Regions from separate parts of the Homo sapiens genome. Here all the other regions are linked to region 2. Evidence: promoter capture Hi-C in 16 types of primary human blood cells and fetal thymus (Javierre and others, 2016). All regions are on one chromosome and are shown on one strand. Each heading gives the region's core, a stretch centred on a gene start or on the middle of the fragment in contact. The rest is flanking DNA. Distances are from core to core; before and after follow the strand shown.

Region 1 (2,850 bases), core at 36-2,535, 590 kb after region 2:
TACATGTCATAATCATGTGACAGATAGGTACTGTGAAAGCCAACCCGGTAGATATTTTAAGGAGTTCTCTGGAAAATCGGAAATGTAGGGTGGAACTTCTATTTCTAGCAAGATGAGGAGTAAGATACTGTTAAAAAATACAAACTAAAAAAAAATGGAGAATAAATTGAATTTTTAAAAACTTTAAAATATATATTTGAGCCTACTCATGTGATTGAAACACAGGAAATGTATTAATCAATAGTAATATATAAAATAAGAAAAAGATAATCTAAATTTTTTGAGTTTCTTATACTGTTAAAGGGAGAAGATATCAATGAATTATAGATGTTGGTAAGTTGTACACACATACTAAATTTCTAAGGTAATCACTAAAAATACCAGAATGTACACTTTCCAAGAAAACCAAGCACTACAAAATAAGTAAGAAAAGCACAAAGAAGAAACTTAGAAAAGCAGAATAAATACAAAGGTAAAGTAGAAATACATGTGCTTATATTGTTACATAATAAATATGAATTGTTTTCCTATCCAAAGACAAAGATTGTGAAACTAATATATCTTTTTAATCCAACATGTGCTATTTACAATGGATACTTCTAAAACATAAGGACACAGGAAATATTAAACTATTGAAAAAAAATACCAGGCAAACACTAATCAAAGGAAACGTTATGTAATTTTAGACTGTCAGAAAGGTAAGACTTTAATAAAAGCATTATTAAAGATAAAAAAAGGCCTCATGCCTGTAATCCCAACACTTTGGGAGGCTGAGGCAGGTGGATCGTGAGGTCAGGAGTTCAAGACCAGACTGGCCAAGATGGTGAAACCCCATCTCTACTAAAAATATAAAAATTAGCCAAGCATGGTGGTGCGTGCCTGTAGTCCCAGCTACTCAGGAGGCTGAGGCAGGAGAATCACTTGAACCCGGGAGGCAAGGTTGCAGTGAGCTGAGATTGTACCACTGCACTCCAGCCTGGGTGACAGAGCGAGACTCTGTCTCAAAAAAGAAAAGCTACTACATAAGATTTCAGCTTTAATTTATCAAGGAAAATAAACACATCTAATCTTGAATATTTCTAATAATGCAGTTGCAAAATATATAAATAAAATGGCAGATGTATAAAGAGAAATGTGAGACTTTTTACCATCGCAGTGGTGGGAGAGTTCTATATCTATTTCTGATTTCATATATGTATATATATTTTCATTATATTAAACAGAAAAAAATCCAGATGGATACCCCAATTAACCTGATTTGATCATTACACATTGTTTGCCTGTACCAAAACATCACGTGTACCCCATAAAAATATACAACTATTTACCCATAATAATTAATTTTTTAAAAAGAGGAAAAAAATCTAGTAAAGTTACTATCTAACAGCATACGTAGGAAATTTCTTTCAATGATTTGAAAATGAAAGTTATTTTAGGTATTTGGATTATTTACAAAACTTACCATCTGATAGGATATTAAAAACACTAATACATCATAAATAATGTGTACTATACAGATTATTTTACCTAGTCACAATGCAATGAAATAGAAGTAGATAGTCAAAAGATGGCTTTTAAACTTTAAAATATTTAACCTTATGGCCGGGGGTAGTGGCTCACACCTGTAATCCCAGCACTTTGGGAGGCCGAGGCGGGCAGATCACAAGGTCAGGAGATCAAGACCATCCTGGCTAACGCGGTGAAACCCCGTCTCTACTAAAAATACAAAAAATTAGCCGGGCGCGGTGGTGGGCACCTGTAGTCCCAACTACTCGGGAGGCTGAAGCAGGAGAATGGCATGAACCCAGGAGGCGGAGCTTGCAGTGAACCAAGATCATGCCACTGCATTCCAGCCTGGGCAACAGAGCAAGACTCCGTCTCAAAAAAAAAAAAAAAATTTAACTTTAAAAATCCATAAAAAGTCATAGCTGAAATAATTTGAAAGCAAAGCAATAAATAGCCTACAATTAAATTATAACACAAAGTATAAAATAAATATCCATCAGTTTATACTGACATAAATAAATTATTGAATAAACAAATAACAGAGAAGAGACAAATCTACCATGCAGAGAAATTTCAAATAATTTGCATAAATATCCTCATGCCCTCTCCCCAAAGGAGCATAAGTCTCCATCCTGTAATGTGAACTGTGTATAGTGACTTCCTTCTAAAGGGCACGTAGAAAGTGAAAAAAAGAATAACTTAACAGTAGAGAAACTTGACAAACACTACTTGAGGGAAAGTGATCAAAGTTAACATCATTAATGATAAGTCATGTCAATACTACATCCCTTTGAAATGATGTGATGAAAATAGCATTTTACTTCTCCCCAAAAAACCATAACCCGCTAACCATGAGAAAACGATTAGACAAATCCAAAGGAAGAACATTCTACAAAATGACTGACAAATACTCTGTAAAATTATCAAAGTCATCAAAAGCAAGAAAAGTCTAACAAATTGTTACTATATAAAGGAGTTCAAAGGACAAGATAGATAAATGAAATGTATTCTGGAACAGAAAAAAAATAGATAAGCACAAAAGAAATATGAACAAAGTATGAACTTTAATTGTTAATAACATATTAATATTGCTTCCTCAGTTTTAACAAATTTACCGTAATATTTTTAGATGTTAATAATAAGTAAACTGAGTGTAGGGTATATGGAAACTCTCTGTATCCTACACATTATCCTTGCAACTTTTCTATGACTCTAAAAGTATTCTAAAATAAAAAGTGTAATTTAAAAAGTCCGTAAGTTTAGAAATAAAATAAAAATTGTCTTTAAAAACACACAAAATTATTAGTGAAAATTAGTACTTGGAACAGAATGATTATAAAAATA
Region 2 (2,962 bases), core at 65-2,564:
CTGACTTCTACTTCCTTGTCCTGTACTCACCCCACCTGGTGTAATTCACCGTAATGCAGTGAACTTCCACATGGCTGCTGGGCATGCTTCCCAAAGCCAGCCCCTGGGCAGGGTTTCCCTTAATTTAGACCCCTGTCCCTACCTCTCCAAGTGCAAAGTGTACAAGGCTACACGCCCAGCTGCCCCCCACCCCCATACACACACTGGAGAGACCAAATGTTTGAGATCACTGTTGGGTAGCTGGGTCAAGAGAGCTTCATAACAATGTTGTTGGCATGTGGAGAGCTTTTCTTTTTCTTGGATCCCAACTGGAAATTATCAGCTTCGCCCCATGCTGACATGCGAATGTCCAGGCCTGCCTTTCTGCTGCAGGGCAATGCTCCAGGTTACAACATCGACACCAAGCAGTTTGTTGAGAAAACTTTGGACCTCATGAGCTGGGCAAGAGCGGCCTGGCAGGTGGTAGGAGAGCAGCCTGTCCATGCCTCAGCTGTGGCTCCACTGGCTCTGTGACTGTGCAGATTTTCTAACTTTTGAAGACCTCTGTTTGGATATCCATAAAATAGGTAAGATGGTGCTAATACCTACCTGTGATGTTGTGAAGATTTAATAGCATAATACTTAAAAGCACTTTGCATACATTAGCAAAGTGCCTAAATATTAGTTATTTGGCGGAGGCTATTAACCAGTGTGCTATGAGGTGCAAAGTAAGTTGTTACCAATAACTCAAAGAACTCCAGTTTGCAAATGTTTTACTTTTACTTAAGAGAATCTTTGCGGGAGAATTAAAACCAATTAATTCCCACCACTGGCCAAGAGCTCATGCTGTAATTATCCAAGACAGAATAGCTCAACAGAAAACCAAGTCATGCAATTCTGAGCACTTGTCCTTGGGATGCCACTTTGGGGCTCCCATATCTGAAATCATTTTGTTCTCAGTCCACCTGTGTGACATTTCTGTCCTGCTCAGCCACGGGTTCACAATAATCAAGGGAATGACCCAAGGGATTCACTTCTTCCAAGCAGCCGATGCCTTTGGAAGTTATGTTGACATTGCTTGTTTAAACCTAGGGCAAGAAATCCTTTCTCTGCCAGACCTGACTCTTCAGGCACACTCCTCAGTTTGGAGACGTGACTTGCCATGTAGTACTGAGAGGGAAAACAGGCCAGAAACAGCCTTGTTGAAAACTTCTTTTCTGCTTAGCTGCCCTCTGAACAGTCACCATAAAGATTGTGAGGTGCTGGAGCCAGGGATGACCTCATAAAGCCCTTTGCTAAATACTTAGTGAGCTGGTACTGTGGGCCAGGCACTGTGCTCATCATGAACAAAACCAAGGCAGACAACACTGTCATTAATGGAGCTTATCATGTAATACGGAAGCCTGGGATAAGCAACAAATTACACAAGTGACAAATGTGATGAGTGCTGTGAAGCAGAGTGCGGGGTGCCCAGGGAATCAGCAGAGCCCTGGAGGATAACAGCCTGAGCTCCAGGAAGGAAGGTTGTGGTGGTGCTTAGGGTCAGAGTGGGGACAAGCATTCCAAGCAAAGGGAAAAGCACATACACATGCTATATTAGTCAGGTTTCTCTAGAGGGACAGAACTAACAGGATAGATGTATAAATGAGGGGGAGCTTATTAAGTAGTATTGACTTGCATGAGCACAAGGTGAAGTCCCACAATAGGCTGTCTGCAAGCCGAAGAGCAGGGAAGCCAGTCCGAGTCCCCAAACCTCAAAAGTAGGGAAGCTGACAGTGCAGCCTTCTGAAGGCCCCAGAGCCCCCGGCAAACTGCTGGTGTAAATCCAAGAGTCCAAAAGCTGAAGAACTTGGAGTCTGTTGTTCGAGGGCAGGAAGTATCCAGCACGAGAGAATGATGAAGGCTGGAAGACTCAGCAAGTCTACTCCTTCCATGTTCCTCTGTGTGCTTTTATTCTGGCTGTGCTGGCAGCTGATTAGATGGTGCCCGCCCAGATTGAGGGTGGGTCTGCCTCTCCCAGTCCACTGACTCAAAAGTTAATATCTTTGGCAACACCCTCACAGACACATCCAGGAACAATAGTTTGCATCCTTCAATCTAATCAAGTTGACACCTAATATTAACCATCATACATCCCCTCCATGGGAAGGAGCATGATGCCTTATATAGTCTACTACCCTCAAACCAATCCTACTCCCTCATCCCCAACACCTTCTTCCCCTGGAACTCTAGATAGAGTTTCTTGACTAGACACATAAGCACAATTAGGCTATGCCTAATTATGAAGCCATCCCGGTTTATACATTTTCTTGTTATACTTGCCTATTTACAAGTTTTTCTTGTGAAAACTTGCCTATTCTTTTTGCTGCCTCCTCTCCACCCTAAAAGAGAAACTCTAAGGAAACACTCCCAGAGTTTATTATAGTTATTATGACTCAGATTTGAAGACTAGAATTTAATGGAGGTTTTCCTAACATTCCTTGGGGACTTGAAGGACTTTTTTTCCCACCAGCCACAGAAGTAAGATTATAAAACATTTATTTATTAAAAGAAAAGAAATCTTCTGGGCTCAAAGTTCTAGTTATTCTAAAAGCAGAGCACTTGTTCCATGTTTTCATATCGCCTCCCCACACCTACCTCTCCTCTCCCATTCTCTATTTCTTTATTTCTGTGCTGTAGTAATAAGCAAAACAGAGAAGCAATTGGTTTTAGTCTTGGATCTTGACCTTGCTGTGTGGCCTTGGCCAAGTCACTTCCCCTTTCTCAGCCTCAGTTTCTTCAAGTGTAAAATGAGAGATTGGATGGATCAGAAGATTCAGGCCTCCTTGAAAATCCCCATGGGTGAACCCCAACACACAGGCTATTCAGCCAGCAGCCCCAAGTCCTTTATGAAAAGCCAAGGTTGATTGAAACTCTCCCTTCTCAGGAGAGAAACTAGAGGCAAAGCTTCCTCATCAGCAGAGATAAACTTGGCAGGAGCCAA
Region 3 (2,700 bases), core at 194-2,693, 610 kb after region 2:
AGGCTTGTTTTTGCCAAATTGGAATTGACCCAGCTAGCAAAATTTTCCAGCGTACTTTCTTACTCTCTTGCCTCTTGTGTGTTCTTGCTGCCTAAACATACGTTTCTGACATGAGGTCTTGGACAGCCCATGAAATACACTGCCCTGCATACCTTTTGTTCCAGGGGGCATGGGGACTTTATTTATTTAATAAACTTTTCCTAAACTGTTTACTGTGTGCAGGCCATAAGGGATAATAAGACATCATTTCTGCCTCCTACCTTTTTATGTTGTTTTAGCACAGATATGGCAAAGATATATCTAACTATATATTAGTTATTGAGCACCTACTGTGTGAAAGGCATTGGGCTAGGTACAAATAGAAGAGCCTTGCAGAATAAACAGGACTTCAATAGGCAGGGAACCAAAATAGGACAGGCCAGGTAGGCTGCGCAGTAAAAGGAAAAGCTCAAAGGCAGGAAAGTAAAAGTCCAATTAGAGGGCTCTGCGTAGGGAATCCAAAGCAAAAGGGCTTAGTGGGAACTTCTGGGTCTATAACCAAAAGCAGGGTTTCAAAGAGATATTTACTTCATCCATGTTCATAGCAGCCATATTCATAATAGCCAAAACAAGGAAGCAACCCAAATGTCCATCAGTGGACGAAAGGATAAACAAAATAGCCTTAAAAAGGAAGAAAATCCTGCCATACACTACAACATGGATAAGCCTTGAGGACAGGATGCTAATGAAATGAGCTACTCATCAAAAGAAAATACTGCATGATTCCACTTACATGATATAGTTGAGAAATCACAGTCATAGAAACAGAATATAGAATGGTGTTTTTCAGGGGCTGTAGGGGAGGAGAGAAAGAGGAGTCATTGTTTAATGGGTATAGAATTTTAGTTTTACAGGACAAAAATTTATGGACATGGATGGGGTGATGGATGTGCATTATGAATGTATTTAGTAACACTAAACTGTACACTTAAAATGGTAAAAACTGTAAATTTTATGTGTATTTTACCACAATAAAAAATGGAAAAAAATGGGCATAGTGGAAAAACTCAGGGTTCAAATCCTACCTCTTTCCCTTATGCACTGGTTCTTCATATACAGACTAAAAATAACAATTGCACTTTTCAGGGTTGTTGTAGGTATTTAAGAAAATCCACTTAATACATGCAGGCGGAGGTTAAAGATAGTTTTTCGTATTAGTCAGTTTGACTATAGCAAACAATTTATGAAGGAGAACATGGAAAATGAGGTGGCAAAAGCAGTTTAGAGCCTCAAGTGAAATGCCTTGAATGCCTATCTATAAAATGGAGCTTTATTCTGTGAACAGTGAGGAACCATTGATGGTCAGTGAACAAAAGAGTGACATGGTCATGGAACTGTTTTCAGAACAATGAGGAGCAGATTAGGAGCAGAGAGAGAAGGGACTCACCAAATAGCTGGCAATTGCTGCAGTGGTTCTGCTGAGAAAGTGGAAAGGAAAAGGTTTATTTGAAGTGACGGTACTTTGCTATGGGAACATTTTTATTCTACTTTAAATAAAATTCAAAGTTATATCAAGAAAACTTCAGGTAAAATGTAAGTTAATGTTTTCCATGCTTGATCAATTCCCAATTTTTTAATCAAACACTACATGTTTGGTGACAAAACATAAATGTGATGTGGCATCCTTCCATCAGCACACACTTTGTGTGTTAACAAACAGCAAGACGCTGATTTCATAAATCCCAGACCAGACAGCACCTCAGGTTCTGGGAACCTTCTGCCTCTAAGAGACCACCCAGCTTTCAAGGGTCCACACAGATCTAAGTGAAAAGCTATAGGAATAACCATTTTGGAACCAGGTTACCTCAAAGACTTTCAGATGTTTATTTGGACATTTAGGCACATTTGGAAGAGAGCAACATAATGTCCCCAAAGAGGAAATCATTGAATAAAGGCGTGTGTTAAAAAGAATTGTGCAGCCATTAAAATAGTGTGTTTATGAAACAATGCTCATGGTATATTAAATAAACTAACCTAGGAAAAAATGTTCATTAGGTTATCATTTCTGTTACAAAGTTAAACATATATGAACATACTATTATGTGTATAGGTAAAGAACTGAAAGAACACACATTACATTTTTTTTTTTTTTTGAGATGCAGTCTCGCTCTGTCACCAAACTGAAGTGCAGTGGCACGATCTCGGCTCACTGTAACCTCCGCCTCCCGGGTTCAAGCGATTCTCCTGCCTCAGCCTCCCGAGTAGCTGGGACTACGGGCACGTGCCACTGCGGCCAGCTAATTTTTTTATTTTTGGTAGAGACGAGGTTTCACCATGTTGGCCAGGGTCTGGATCTCTTGACCTCGTGATCCACCTGCCTTTGCCTCCCAGAGTGCTGGGATCACAGGAGTGAACTACCGCTCTCAGCCCACATTATATTTTTAACAGCGGTAGTCTATGACTGAAGAAATTATGATGGTTTTAAATGAGAGATTACAAACTGACAGCTTAAGGTTGCGTTTGACTTCTGGACATTTTTGTTCACTTAACCTTTTCTGTTCTGTTACCCCTCTTTACACTATTCTCCAAGGACCTACTCACTTTGTGTATATTTTGATTACCTGCCTGAGCACTGTAGGTGTTCCTGGGTGAAGTTTTCACCTTTGCGCTTTTCTACAACAAGCAGGCTTTAATTTTATATAAGAAAAAGCAAAAGTTTTA
Region 4 (2,700 bases), core at 1-2,500, 630 kb after region 2:
TCTGTAGTCTTATTTCTGTAAACTAAAGGCAAAAGCCTTATTTTGAGTTTCCCACCAAATTTAGTGACCTGGAAATTTCTGTTCTTCTTGTTACCTGAGAGAGATTGCATTTGGAGACTTTTTCATCTACATTGTTCCTTAAGTTACAAGATTCTATTATCCTTGATACCTGCATATTAAACTGGTAGATACACTTCTCTTGGATGTTTGAAGGCGTTAAAAAAATTTGTAACTTACTCATGGATTTATGAAGAGAAGAGAAGTTGGGGAAACTTAGAAGAGCTTCCTTCTATCATTTTATACTTATTCAGAAAAGCCAAATGTTACATATAGATAGGAAAATAGTTTTCAAACTGTTTAGGAAAATTCCAGTGTAAAGGAATAATAGTTATCTTTCAAGACCTTATAACTGGTCACCTGATAAGAAAATGGGTGAAGATGGTAGGACTTCATTCAAGACTTATCTTGTAGAGTTCATGTAGGAATTATTAAGACCAGAAATTTGTTGTTGCTCAATTTCTAGTAAGTGGCTTGAATCAAAATTTGGTTCTGCTCACTAACAACAGTTAAGTACCCTTGTAACTCCTTAGTGGGTGAAGTGGAGATTCTAGATCCCTCCAGCCAAGGACAAGGCAGGTAATTATTGCCAGGTATAACCATGTTCCATAGCATTCCAACATCTCAGAAGAATAAATGGATATTTCTACCTAAACAGAAGGTGTGCCTTTGTTCAAAAATGAATCTGGATAGGACAGAAGTTTTTATACCTTCTAGTAATACATTTCGTTTTTTTTCCTTCTTCCAACCTTGATTTTTGGTCAGAATATAAAATAAATTTCAAAACAAAATGATGTACGATTTCAAATAATTGCATGAAATATACTAGTAATAAAAGAGCCAATATGTAGTGTTTTTATGTGATAGGGAATATTAATATGAAACTATGTCCTATATAATGTTTTTCTCCTGATGTTTAAAAACTCTATAGTTATAGATCATCTATTTATTTGTAAACTGTACTAAATAATTTTGTATCAAATCTTCCAAGCTAAGTTTATTTTCAATGTATTGGTAGAGAAATGCATCTAGGTAGCTTTGTAGTCAGACTACACTCATCCATAGGCTAATGAAAAATTAACTTGGGGAAGCTTTGGGGAAAGCAGTCAGGTACTGAGTTTTTCTTGAACAAAAAACCAAAAATTTAGAAGAATATCCTTTTTGAAATCTAGTCTTCATAGGGAAAGCTAGCTTTCTTCCAAACTAAATCATCAGAAATGGTAGGATTAACTGATGTATAAGTAGAAATTTCTCTCTCTGAGATATTGTACTGTTTAACTCATGTAACAGTGAGAAGAAGCTTTGATTACTTCAGGGAAGAGGCTAAAAAAAGAAGAGGTTTATTATGTCCCCAGTGGGCCAAGGTTTCTAAAGGTATCTTAGCCTCTGTGCTCCTAAAATAAAACATAACCCTTACTAGCAGAGCCTTTCCTGAGAATTAACATGCTCTTAGTTTTCTTTGTATCAGACATTCTGGAAGTGTTTCTTTTAAAGAATCAAGACTCTGGTGAGAGCTAAGAAAATGAAGCCATGAAATTTCTTCCAATCCTAAACTTTTAAGGGACTAGAAAAAGAGAGTTGCTTTGCTTATAAAATGAAGAGGATCATATAGACTTAGTTTTACTGTTGTTTCTTTGAGCACTTACTTGGTATCATTCTTGTATTTGTTAAGCATCACCACAAAGTCACCTTAAATTCTTCTCACTTGTCCTTCACAGAAAACCAGCCACTGAGTCTGGAATCTTCTATATTCTTCTTTTCCTGCTTCTTTCAAATACATCTTATTCACTTCTCCCCTGACATCATTTTAAAATCGCTTTATTGAAATATTGAAATTGCCATTAAAAGTAATGGCAAAAATTGCAATAACTTTTGCACCAACCTACGAATTTAAAAACCAGAAATCTACCCATTGTAAGTGTAAAGTTTGATTAGTTTGAGTAAAATTATACATTTGTGCAACAGTCCCCACAATCCCGATTTAGAACACTTTCCCTTCCCCAAAAGTTCCCTGGGGCACAGTTGCAATTAATCCCCACTTGCTGAGTCTCTGACAACCATGGAACTACCTTCTGTCTCTATGGGTTGCCTTTTCTGGACATTTCATATAAATAGAATCAGGTGGTCTTTTGCATCTGGCTTCTTTCACTTAGCGTGATGTTGTTGAGATTCAGCTATGTTGCAACGTGTGTCATTACCTTGTTTTTTTATTGCTGAATAGTATTCCATTTTATGGCTATACCACAATTTGTCTGTCTATGTATCCATTGATGGGCATTTTGGTTGTTTCTAGTTTGGGGCTGCTATAAATAATGCTGTTATAAATATCTGTGTACCTATCTTTTTGTGGGCGTATGTTTTCATTTCTCTTGCTAGATATATAGGAGTAGAATTGCTGGGTCATGTGATGAATATATGTTTAATTTTTTAAGAAACTGACAAACTCTTTTCTAAAATGGCTGTACCATTTCTTCCTGCCAGCAATGCATGAGCCTCCAGTTTCTCTACGTCCTAGCTAATGCTTGTTATTTGCAGCTTTTTTATTTTAACCATTCTAGTGAGTGTGTGGCATGGATCTCATTGTACTTTACCGATTGGCTTTAACCTAGTGACTAAGATGTTGAGCACCTCTTCCCCTGTTTA

What was found. Contacts are between HindIII fragments. The CHiCAGO score rates a contact against its expected background, and 5 or more counts as called.
Region 1: a fragment that was not itself captured here is called in contact with the fragment with the promoter of LINC01352 in region 2 in 6 of 17 cell types (neutrophils, monocytes, M2 macrophages and 3 more); the score reaches 15.3 in neutrophils.
Region 3: a contact is called between a fragment that was not itself captured here and the fragment with the promoter of LINC01352 in region 2, in 7 of 17 cell types (neutrophils, M0 macrophages, M2 macrophages and 4 more). The highest score is 12.4, in neutrophils.
Region 4: a contact is called between a fragment that was not itself captured here and the fragment with the promoter of LINC01352 in region 2, in 4 of 17 cell types (M1 macrophages, M0 macrophages, erythroblasts and 1 more). The highest score is 7.3, in M1 macrophages.

The regions. Positions count from the first base shown.
Region 1 is chr1:221,420,454-221,423,303 of GRCh38, forward strand. The region is part of intron 3 of LOC105372932 (a long non-coding RNA gene); the gene reads left to right. Among named protein-coding and RNA genes, the nearest start is that of LINC02817, 86 kb to the left of the region's middle. The HindIII fragment of the contact is 6,744 bases long and covers 1-2,850 here.
Region 2 is chr1:220,827,941-220,830,902 of GRCh38, forward strand. LINC01352 (long intergenic non-protein coding RNA 1352) reads left to right here and starts at 1,315. Exons shown (of 4, transcript NR_110797.1): 1 at 1,315-1,502; 2 at 2,753-2,962. The HindIII fragment of the contact is 6,544 bases long and covers 1-2,923 here.
Region 3 is chr1:221,440,919-221,443,618 of GRCh38, forward strand. All of the region lies in intron 3 of LOC105372932 (a long non-coding RNA gene), which reads left to right. Among named protein-coding and RNA genes, the nearest start is that of LINC02817, 110 kb to the left of the region's middle. The HindIII fragment of the contact is 6,194 bases long and covers 1-2,700 here.
Region 4 is chr1:221,459,146-221,461,845 of GRCh38, forward strand. The region is part of intron 3 of LOC105372932 (a long non-coding RNA gene); the gene reads left to right. Among named protein-coding and RNA genes, the nearest start is that of LINC02817, 120 kb to the left of the region's middle. The HindIII fragment of the contact is 209 bases long and covers 1,147-1,355 here.